3 separate regions of the Homo sapiens genome follow, and all the other regions are linked to region 3. Evidence: promoter capture Hi-C in 16 types of primary human blood cells and fetal thymus (Javierre and others, 2016). All regions are on one chromosome and are shown on one strand. Each heading gives the region's core, a stretch centred on a gene start or on the middle of the fragment in contact. The rest is flanking DNA. Distances are from core to core; before and after follow the strand shown.

Region 1 (3,619 bases), core at 404-2,903, 540 kb after region 3:
TATACACACACACATATATATACATATATGTATGCAAGAATATAAAATATACATGTGTGTGTGTATATATATACACACATATATATGTCCCTTGCAGCCAAGTCTAATTCTAACTAATACAAACTAACTCTAAAAAATGAATATATATTCACCAGGGGATAGGCTATTTCAAGCAGAGGGAAGCCTGTATAAAGGCTCAGGGAATGCCGTGGTTTTATGTGGCAGCAGATGAGACTGGAAATGAGTCAGGATGAGCCACAGTGGAGGATGAATTAAATGGGCAGGAGTGTGGTAGAAAGACCTGTTGGAGGCTATGAATGCAATCAAGGTGACAGACAACTGGTGCAATGATGGTAGTGGAAATGGAGGAGAGGGGATTGATTCAAGATGCATTTAGGACCAAGAATCGGGAGCTTGTGAACGTGTGTATGAGTACTGTAGACGGAGTGGGTGTGTCATCAGAGAAGATCTGAGCATTTGGGCTTGCTCTCCTCAGAGGCCCTGCGAGTGGAGTTCAGCTTTTCCTCATGGGGCAAATCTCACTTTCGCTCCAGTTCCTGGGGCTCAGAGTCCCTGGCCCAGATGCCTCTTGCCATCTCATCTTCACCCTGCCTGGCTTCCCTTGCTTGTTCCAGGATTGTTTCATAAAGAGGGATGTGGTTGGTCTTTAACCCTATGAATGCTGGCTGAGGATGCCTGCGGAACCTGTAGTGAAGCTTTCAGGGGCTGCTCGGGTTCTGGCTGGTAGGTGAACACTGTCCATCTTGCCGGCTGGGACACAGTGACTCTGGGTAGTTGTGTAAGAGAGGGGCCCTTGGCAGACAAACAGGTTCTTCTCTGTTGGTGGGCCAGCCAGCAGGTCAGTGGGAAGGTTAAAGGTCATGGGGTTTGGGAGAAACTGGGTGAGGAGTTCAGCCCCATCCCCCGTAAAGCTCCTGGGAAGCACTTCTCTACTGGGGCAGCCCCTGATACCAGGGCACTCATTAACCCTCTGGGTGCCAGGGAAAGGGCAGGAGGTGAGTGCTGGGAGGCAGCTGAGGTCAACTTCTTTTGAACTTCCACGTGGTATTTACTCAGAGCAATTGGTGCCAGAGGCTCAGGGCCCTGGAGTATAAAGCAGAATGTCTGCTCTCTGTGCCCAGACGTGAGCAGGTGAGCAGCTGGGGCAGAGGGATGGGGGTCACAGTCCTAAGGGAGGGCATTGCAGGTGGCCTCAGGGGAGAGCCTGGGGTGGCCCCTAAGACGTCCTCTTGGAACATTTTGGCAGAGTTGCCTCTTCGCCCTCATTATGGCTCAGTTTTTCCACCATGAAATGGGAGGGAGGGAGACAGGTGGGCAGGGGAGAGGTGGTAGAAGTGGCCTAGAGAACTGTTCCTGGGGTCTGGGACCTTTGCGAAGGGGTTAGAGCACCACGCTCCCTGCTATGTGACTGAGGTAGCAAGAGCACGCCCTCTTCCCATGTCTGAGGAAGACACCCTAGCCTCCTTGACTCACCTAGGTCAGTCCTCTTGAGCCCCAACAGCTCTGTGCTCCCCAGCCCAAGGAAGGGGTAACAGGATTTCGGGCAGTTGCCCCTGCAGAGGCCCCCTGGGCAAGTCCCCTGCGCCATGTCCCTTCGTCTCCTTCTTCCCCTAACCAGGCCTCCCTCCACCTGTCTTCTCAGAGCAGGTAATGGCAAGCATGGCTGCCGTGCTCACCTGGGCTCTGGCTCTTCTTTCAGGTGGGTCTCCGACCCTGACTTCAACGTGGGGGTGTGGGTGGAGGCTGGCCAGAGGGCCCTGTCCACCCTGGGGGAGGAGAGCCCAGGCCCTGATTACCTAGTCCCTCTCCACAGCGTTTTCGGCCACCCAGGCACGGAAAGGCTTCTGGGACTACTTCAGCCAGACCAGCGGGGACAAAGGCAGGGTGGAGCAGATCCATCAGCAGAAGATGGCTCGCGAGCCCGCGTGAGTGCCCAGGGGAAGGGGTGTAGGCGAAGGGAGGAGACAGCTGGGCCATGCCATGATGACCTGCCTCTGCTGCCTCAACCTCTGTGGCCGCTGCTGGGACAGAGGAAAGGAGCGGTGCTAGCTCTGTCTGCAGATCCCGGCCATCCTGGGCTCTTTAGCGCCCTCTGCCTGCAGCCCCCGCCTTGACAACTCCGTAGCTGTTGCCCCCTTGCTCACTGAGGCGCGGGACCTGGGATCAATCGGGAGGACGCCCGCTGCAGTCCCCAGAATCAAAGGATGATGTGGCGCATCTATGTTTCTTTGGAGAGTGTTGTAGGTCTGGATTTGTATGGGCAATGTGTTTGTGCTTCGTGCGTGAGTTGTTACTGGCCAGGGCTAGGACAAGAGCCCTCGACCCTGGGGCCAACGCCCTGCGTCCTTGGTTCCCCCAGAGGATCAGTGCGCGATGACTTGGGGACAAAGGAGATGATGGAGGCTAGCAGTCTGACGGCCTGGATATCTGTCCCCTTCTCCAGGACCCTGAAAGACAGCCTTGAGCAAGACCTCAACAATATGAACAAGTTCCTGGAAAAGCTGAGGCCTCTGAGTGGGAGCGAGGCTCCTCGGCTCCCACAGGACCCGGTGGGCATGCGGCGGCAGCTGCAGGAGGAGTTGGAGGAGGTGAAGGCTCGCCTCCAGCCCTACATGGCAGAGGCGCACGAGCTGGTGGGCTGGAATTTGGAGGGCTTGCGGCAGCAACTGAAGCCCTACACGATGGATCTGATGGAGCAGGTGGCCCTGCGCGTGCAGGAGCTGCAGGAGCAGTTGCGCGTGGTGGGGGAAGACACCAAGGCCCAGTTGCTGGGGGGCGTGGACGAGGCTTGGGCTTTGCTGCAGGGACTGCAGAGCCGCGTGGTGCACCACACCGGCCGCTTCAAAGAGCTCTTCCACCCATACGCCGAGAGCCTGGTGAGCGGCATCGGGCGCCACGTGCAGGAGCTGCACCGCAGTGTGGCTCCGCACGCCCCCGCCAGCCCCGCGCGCCTCAGTCGCTGCGTGCAGGTGCTCTCCCGGAAGCTCACGCTCAAGGCCAAGGCCCTGCACGCACGCATCCAGCAGAACCTGGACCAGCTGCGCGAAGAGCTCAGCAGAGCCTTTGCAGGCACTGGGACTGAGGAAGGGGCCGGCCCGGACCCCCAGATGCTCTCCGAGGAGGTGCGCCAGCGACTTCAGGCTTTCCGCCAGGACACCTACCTGCAGATAGCTGCCTTCACTCGCGCCATCGACCAGGAGACTGAGGAGGTCCAGCAGCAGCTGGCGCCACCTCCACCAGGCCACAGTGCCTTCGCCCCAGAGTTTCAACAAACAGACAGTGGCAAGGTTCTGAGCAAGCTGCAGGCCCGTCTGGATGACCTGTGGGAAGACATCACTCACAGCCTTCATGACCAGGGCCACAGCCATCTGGGGGACCCCTGAGGATCTACCTGCCCAGGCCCATTCCCAGCTCCTTGTCTGGGGAGCCTTGGCTCTGAGCCTCTAGCATGGTTCAGTCCTTGAAAGTGGCCTGTTGGGTGGAGGGTGGAAGGTCCTGTGCAGGACAGGGAGGCCACCAAAGGGGCTGCTGTCTCCTGCACATCCAGCCTCCTGCGACTCCCCAATCTGGATGCATTACATTCACCAGGCTTTGCAAA
Region 2 (3,943 bases), core at 486-2,985, 570 kb after region 3:
AAACCAGATCAAAGAACTTTCCTTACTGTTATATTAATTTTTTTAATACTTTGAGTGGATCTTTTACCCATGCATGATTTTATAACATCATGCATTGGTCATTTGTAAAATATTGGTTTGCTGAGTTGTTCAGACCTTCCAAATGTTGACATATTTCCACTATACAATATCAGAAAATCACTTTTGTTAACATCACTTCCGGTCTTATCACAAAACTCTTTAAATAATGGGAAGTTAAAGAGTTCACAGTTTTTCAGAATTCTAATTTACACTTGAAAGTTTAAATGTTATCACTGGCATTTCCATTGCTTGAGCTATTTCCATTTAATAGCTTAATTTCTCTGCTGAGATTTCCCATCTGTTCATTATGAGATATTTTCCTCTTCTTGAAAATATTTGTGATATGTAATTGGTGCTTTGAAGTCCTTCCTGTCTGTTAATTGCAACATTGGATTCACCACAGGATTGGTTTCTATATTGGCAGCTTTTTCTTCAGTGTGTATTACATTTTCCTGTTTATTTACCTGTCTGGTCACTTTTTTAAATTGTTACTGGACATCATGAATGATATACTGTAGAGACTTTGAGTTCTGTTACACTGTATTGTCAGTTGTTTTCCTTCAGGTAAAGCTCACTTTGTACAATAGCTTTTTATAGATTCCATCAGATTTTGTACCTAGAGGGTCTTCCATCTTTGCATACAGTTTAATTTCTTACTTTACAATCTAGATGCTTTTTGTTTCTTTTCCTTGCCCTGTTGCATTAGCTAGCACTTCAGTGCAGATGTTGAATAGAAGTAGTGAGAGCAGACATCTTTGCTTTGTTCCTAATCTCAGGAAGAAAACATTTAGTTTTTACAACACATTTATTAAATGTGTTGTAGCTGTATAGGTTTTTTGTAGATATCCTTTATGGAGTTAAAGTTCCCTTCTATTCCTGTTTTGCTGAGAGTTTTGTTTTCAGGAATGTATGTTGGATTTTGTTCAAAATATTTTCTAATTATCCTTTTGGTTTATTCTTTGCTCCATGGGTTATTTAGGAGTGCATTAATTCCAAATATTTGGACTTTTCTAGATATCTTACTGCTATTTACTTATAATTTAATTCCATTTTGGTCAGATAATATACTGTAATATTTTGATCTTTTGAAATTTGTTGGCCAGGCACAGTGGCTCATGCCTGTAATCCCAACATTTTGGGAGCCCAAGGCAGACGGATTGCTTGAGCCTAGGAGTTTGAGACCAGCCTGGGCAACATGGCAAAACCCTGTCTCTACAAAAAAATACAAAAATTAGTCGGGCATGGTGGCACACGCCTATAGTCCCAGCTACTGTGGAGGCTGAGGTGGGAGGATCACTGAGCCCAGGGAGGTCGAGGCTGCAATGTGCTGTGATTGCACCACTGCACTCCAGCCTGGATGACAGAGTGAGACCATGTATCAAAAAACAATAATAAAAATGAAATTTGTTAAGGTGTGTTTTATGGCCCAGTGGATAGTCTATCTTCTGAATGTTTCCTTTGCACTTGAAGAGAACGTATATTCTGTAGCTATATAAGGTAGTGTTTTATAAAAGTCAGTGAGGTCAAGGTGTTTAGATCTTAGATCGCCTGTATTCTGGGTTTTTTGTGTTTGTATTTTTCTATCAGTTACTATCAATTGTGGATTTTTTGTTTTAGCTGGTTTATTTTGTTTTTCAACTCTAAAATTTCCATTTAATAGCTTACATTTCTCTGCTGAGATTTCCCATCTGTTCATTATGAGACATTTTCCTCTTCTTGAAAATATTTATGATATGTAATTAGTGCTTTGAAGTCCTGTCTGCTAATTGCAACATTGGATTCACCACAGGATTGGTTTCTATTGACAGCTTTTTCTTCAGTGTGTATTACATTTTCCTGTTTATTTACCTGTCTGGTCACTTTTTAAAATTGTTACTACGCATCATGAATGATACACTGTAGAGACTTTGAGTTCTGTTACACTGTATTCCTCTTAAGTGTGTTAGTTTTTATTCTAGCAGGTAGTTAACATAGCTGAACTCCAAACTGTCTCCTTTGCAGTGGACGGCAGCTACAATCTTTGCTCAGTTCTTTTAGTTTCTAGCTGCCATTTTTTTAATTGGCCTGATGGTATTTTCTCTGCACATGTGTCATTTAACAGTTAGCCAAGGATTTGACTAGGGTTTGTATGTAGATTTTGAGGTTCATCTCTTTTGTAGTTCCTTCTCTTCCAAGATTTCCCCCCTAATTTCCTAGCTGTTCTGCCCACTTTGCACTAATTCCTCAAGCCAGTAAGCCTGTGGCTTTCTGCCTTCATGAGCCATGCTGTTTGGGAAGTTGCCCTCCAGCAAATCTCTTTTCACATATAGACTTCATCCAGTTCATACTTACTTTTGGTCACTCTTCCACACCTTCAAATACCTATTTTTTTTGTTTTGTCTAGGTTTTATAGTTGCTAACTGAGGATAGGTTAGTCTGTTCGGGTTACTCTGCAATGTCTAGAATCTGTCTCCCCACCTTATATGGGCCTAAGGCGTTGTCTTCTGTCCCTCGGGGTGCCGTCAAAATCCAACAGCCAGGTGTGGTGGCGTGTGTCTGTAGTACCAGCTATTTGGGAGGCTGAGGCAGGAAGATCGCTTGAACCCAGGAGTTTAAGTCCAGGCTAGGCAACATAGTGAGACCCCAACTCCAGAATAAAAAAATTTAAGGCTCTTCTTTCTGATATTGGCAGATATCTATAAGTTGACTGTAGTTCCTCATCTTGGCAGATATCTTTAGGGTAGCTGTGGTTACAGGCTAGCTTACTAGTTCCGTTTGCAGTTCACTGTATGTAGGCTTTTTGGTAGAAGGAGGATTTTTCAGAACACTCATTTGCCATACATACAGCCAGAAGTAGATCTTTTTATAGCACAACCCTACAGATGTTCCCTGCTACCGAGTTTTTGTTTTTTGTTTTTTAATTTTTGGACCCAAAACTTAGAATTCTCCCTGACCTAGTTTTTTTTTACTAGTATTTAATTTGTCTTCATTTTTCTCAGTTGCTTTTTTCCACTTCTTGTTCTGATTTTATCCTAGATTTCTTCTCTTATTTCCCTTTGTCACCCTTGCTTTCTTTTTGTTATTCATCTTTCATCATCTTTTCTAGTTTTGTCTCTTTTCGGCCTGCTGCAAGGGAATATTTCCGGAACAGATATATAGTATCTGTTGGAAAAACCCATAAGATAATTACCCAGCCTCTCTTAATTGAAAGAGAAACGGGGCCGGGTGCGGTGGCTCATGCCTATAATCTCAGCACTTTGGGAGGCCGAGGCGGGCAGATCACGAGGTCAGGAGATTGAGACCATCCTGGCTAACATGGTGAAACCTCGTCTCTACTAAAAAAAATACAAAAAATTAGCTGGGCGTGGTGGCGGGCGCCTGTAGTCCCAGCTGCTCGGAAGGCTGAGGCAGGAGAATGGCGTGAACCCGGGAAGCGGAGCTTGCAGTGAGCCGAGATCGTGCCACTGCACTCCAGCCTGGGCAACAGAGCAAGACTCCGTCTCAAAAAAAAGAGAAACTGAGGCCCAATAAATAAGCAGTTTGCCTAGAGTCATGCAATTTCCCTGAGAAAGCTGGAATTAGAACTCTGCGTTCCTGATTCTCTGGTCCAAAGCTCTTTCCACTGTGAGTTCTCCTGCAATTTGTTTTCTGATTCTGCTTAGGATTTGGTGTTTGTTATTCATATGTCCTTTGTATTATCATATTAGTGTAACTCTCTTAAGACCTTATTTCCAAGGTAAAAAACAGTGGTTTCCTTGGTGCTTTGGAATACCATCCATGCTTCTAAGGTTGGAGAGGATGCCATTTATAATAAGCTTCCCTTCTTTTTTTTTTGAGACGGAATTTCGCTCTTGTTGCTCAGGCTGGAGTGCAAAATGGCACGATCTTGGCTCACTGGAACCTC
Region 3 (3,800 bases), core at 916-3,415:
GAATTAATTATGACAACAAAAGCTTATAGCCACTGAACACTTCCTATGTTACAGGAACTGTACTGAGTGCTCTATATACATCATCTCACTTCATCCACTCAGCAAAATAGAATTATCTTCACTTTTCAAATAAGGAAACTGAGGCTTAGCAAAGTTAAAAAAAAAAAAAAAAAAAAAAAGGCCAGGCGCAGTGGCTCACGCCTGTAATCCCAGCACTTTGGGAGGCGGAGGTGGGCGGATAATGAGGTCAGGAGATCCTGACCAGCCTGGCCAACATGGTGAAACCCCGTCTCTACCAAAATACAAAAAATTAGCCAGGAGTTGTGGTGCCCACCTGTAGTCCCAGCTACTCGGGAAGCTGAGGCAGGAGAATCGCTTGAACCCAGGAGACTGAGACTGCAGTGAGCCAAGATCGCACCACTGCACTCCAGCCTGGGCGACAGAGCAAGACTCTATTTCAAAACAAACAAACAAACAAACAAACTTGCCCAAGGTGTCACAGCTAATAAACGGTAGAGCAGAATATGTAAGTATCCATGTCTGACTCCAAAGCCCAAACTCTTAACCATTCTGACATGACCAGAGTGCAAGGGACAGTGGGAGGAGTGGCAAGACAGAGCTCTAGAATGAAAGGCAAGAGCATATTATAAAGGGCCTGGAAGAACAGAGGCTCTATCCTGTAAATGATGAGGGGCCATCACAGGATTTCACAAAGGAGACTGGCATGACCAGATCTGTAGGTCAGATAGACGATTCTAGCCAAGAATAGTGGTGCATGCCTGTAGTCCCGTCTACTAAGGAGACTGAGGTGGGAGGATGGCTTGAGGGCAAGAGTTCGAGGCTGCAGTGTACTAGGGTCACACCGGTGAATACCAACTGCACTCCAGCCTGGGCAACATACCAAGACCCTGTCTCTAAAATAAATAAATGATTCTGACAGCTGCATAAGAACTAATTACAGGAGGACAAGAACTGAGGCAGAGAGACCACTTAGGAAGTTATCCTGAAAGCACAAGCAAGAAATTATGAACTAAGTCAGTGTCTGTGAGGATGGAAAGGAAGCGCCAGATTCTAGGGGAATTAAGAGGCAGAATACAGGACTTGAACTTCGGGAGAGAGGAGGGAAATCAGAGCACTAAAGCCAGAACACTGTGACTATCATTTCTAGATGTGTTCATTTCTATGCCTCGTCCAATAGGCAGCCCCACCTACTACACTGCCTAGAAGACAGGGCATGTCCGACAAATGTTTGCTGTATTTATTAGATGAATAAATTAAAGGGACAGACTTGGCTGAGTGAATGGTGAAGCCCTTCATTGAGATAAAAAAATACAAGAGGAGAAACAGATCGGAGGGACCGGGGAAGGCTGACGATGACAGTAAGCAGGTCTGAGCTCAGGAAAGAGGTCTGGCTGGAGTAGTTTGGCGAGTCAACGCTGAAAAGCTGATAACGCAAGAGATGGAGTGCGCCGAGTAGAAGGGAGCTTTCTACTGCCAAGGACTGAGTTAGGAGAACGGACAGGGAGTCGCTGAAGCCAAGTGAGGAGAGCGGTGCCAGAGGTAGAGGGACATTTTTAAATCCAATGCAAGAAAAGGAAAAAACAAAAAAGCTTTCCAACTTTCCCAGCTGGCCAAAGATGGCATAAGATTGGGCTAGCCCCGGATTTGGACCCGGGGGGAAGCCTGCCACAGAAGTATCCCAGCAAGCTTCGGAAGGCCTGGCCTCACTCGCCAACGATGAACAGAGCAAGCAAACCAGGGCCCCGTGCCCAGTGCCCCTCTCCCGCGTCCCGACCCGCTGCTCACTCACCCGCCAGACCCCCAGCCCGGGCCCGGTGGCCCGCTCAGGAGCCGGCGAGATTTCAAACGGAGGAACTGTCGCCTGGCAGTCCGATTTTCACTTCTTCCCTCAGTCCCCGCCCACACTCGAGCGCATCACGCTCGTTGGCTCGAGAGCGTGCCTCGGGTCCCCCGCCACGCTCGCTCCCTTCCCCGCCGCCCAACCCCTCCCTCGATGAGGTCCTCAACTATCCCCCACCCCGGAAGGCTCCGGGCGAGGCTCCGGGCGAGGCTCTGGGCGAGGCGCAGCTCCCCCAACGCCACCCAACACCCACCCGCTCCCCCAGCTTCCAGGGACGCCGGGGTGTTGCCCTGCAGCGCGCAACAAACACTTCCGGAAAAGGTACCGCCTAGCAACCGGGAGTCCCGCCTCCAGCAGGAGCCAATAGGTCGCCGGCTGAGAGCTGTGACAATGGATTGGCTCGAAGTCCCTTCGGTGCACGCAGGAGCTCTGTCCGTTTTCCGTTGCACGATGGGAGTGTAGTTTAAGATAGATAATGGGAATCCGCAAGAGGTTGAAAGAGTGTAGTTTAAGATAGATAATGGGAATCCGCAAGAGGTTGAAAGAGAACCTCATCGGCTGGGCGCGGTGGCTCACGCCTGTAATTCCAGCAATTTGGGAGGCCGAGGCGGGTGGGTCACCTGAGGTCAGGAGTTCGAGACCAGCCTGACCAACATGGTGAAACCCCTTCTCTACTAAAAAAAAAAAAAAAAAAAAAAGAGGACCCCGAGTTTAGACGTGAGGATTTCTGCCAGGACAGAGAAGGACTATTTAGAGTATTTATACTAATGTGAATTATCTAATTATCTAATTGATCATTTGTTAGGAGTATGATTAACATCAGGTGAATAATACAGTGGTCATCAATAATCAACCCATTGTTACTTTAATCAACAAAACAAATGTGAATGTAAGGTAATGGAGACGCGTCCACTCCCCATCTCTCCCCGCAAAAAAACTGGCTCTCCTGTGCTCCTATTAAACCAGTGAGCACCTGACCAGGAGTTAAACCTATTTTCTACTATCCATCTTTTCACCAAAGCCCAGGGTTCAGTTTGTATGTCTGCAAGATGGGGATAGTAATGTCTGTCATAACTATTTCAAAGAGTCTATTGAAGAAGAAAAAAAGTGACACAATGTGTAGCTCCTCCACACACCCTGTCGGGCAGAAAGGTTGCTACTAATATAATTCCGAAGAGTTTTAGTTTTGCTTGCACGGAGGGCAAATCTTCCTTTCTCTCATATGTCTCCAACCTCCTAGAGAAGTTAAGAGGGGCAAAGAAAGTTCTGGCCATTACATCAATAGGAAAACTGAGAAACAGACAAATACAGATGCTGCTAGTTGAGGAGGAAAATGATGAGGCCAAGCTCATAGAGCCGCTCCTGATAGGTTCTAGAGATGTAGCTGACTCAGGATAGTCCCAGTGCCACTCAGAGGCTGATTCCAGGATGAGAAACTCAGATTGTTGGAATATACAGAGCATATTCCTTGTGAAAATTATCAAAATCAAAATAGAGTCATTTGTTTTAAAACCCTGACAAATGGAGCCAGGGAAGACCATGAAGAGAGGGTTCTCACGCATGAATACCTGATAACAAAAACTATCGACCGGGCCTGGTGGCTCATATCTGTAATCCTAGCACTTTGCCAGGCACAGTGGCTCACACCTGTAATCCCAGCACTTTGGGAGGCCAAGGCGGGTGGATCACCTAAGGTCAGGAGTTCGAGACCAGCCTGGCCAATATGATGAAACCCCGTCTCTACTAAAAATACAAAAATTAGCTGGGCATGGTGGCACACGCCTGTAGTCCCAGCTGCTCAGGAGGCTGAGGCAGGAGGCTGAGGCACTTAAACCCGGGAGGTGGAGGTTGCAATGAGCCCAGATCAAGCCACTGCACTCCAGTCCAGCCTGGGTGACAGAGCAAGACTCCGTCTAAAAAAATAAATAAAATAAAAATT

What was found. Contacts are between HindIII fragments. The CHiCAGO score rates a contact against its expected background, and 5 or more counts as called.
Region 1: the fragment with the promoter of APOA5 here is called in contact with the fragment with the promoter of CEP164 in region 3 in 9 of 17 cell types (neutrophils, activated CD4 T cells, naive CD4 T cells and 6 more); the score reaches 9.0 in neutrophils.
Region 2: a contact is called between a fragment that was not itself captured here and the fragment with the promoter of CEP164 in region 3, in 1 of 17 cell types (neutrophils). The highest score is 5.8, in neutrophils.

Annotation. Positions count from the first base shown.
Region 1 is chr11:116,789,913-116,793,531 of GRCh38, reverse strand. APOA5 (apolipoprotein A5) reads left to right here and starts at 1,653. Exons shown (of 3, transcript NM_001371904.1): 1 at 1,653-1,720; 2 at 1,835-1,946; 3 at 2,465-3,619. The coding sequence starts at 1,672. The coding sequence ends at 3,404. The HindIII fragment of the contact is 6,000 bases long and covers 719-3,619 here.
Region 2 is chr11:116,751,561-116,755,503 of GRCh38, reverse strand. All of the region lies in intron 9 of BUD13 (BUD13 spliceosome associated protein), which reads left to right. Among named protein-coding and RNA genes, the nearest start is that of BUD13, 19 kb to the left of the region's middle. The HindIII fragment of the contact is 4,243 bases long and covers 1-3,856 here.
Region 3 is chr11:117,326,219-117,330,018 of GRCh38, reverse strand. CEP164 (centrosomal protein 164) reads right to left here and starts at 2,165. Exons shown (of 33, transcript NM_014956.5): 1 at 2,115-2,165. RefSeq lists a silencer at 1,848-2,097. The HindIII fragment of the contact is 8,937 bases long and covers 1,710-3,800 here.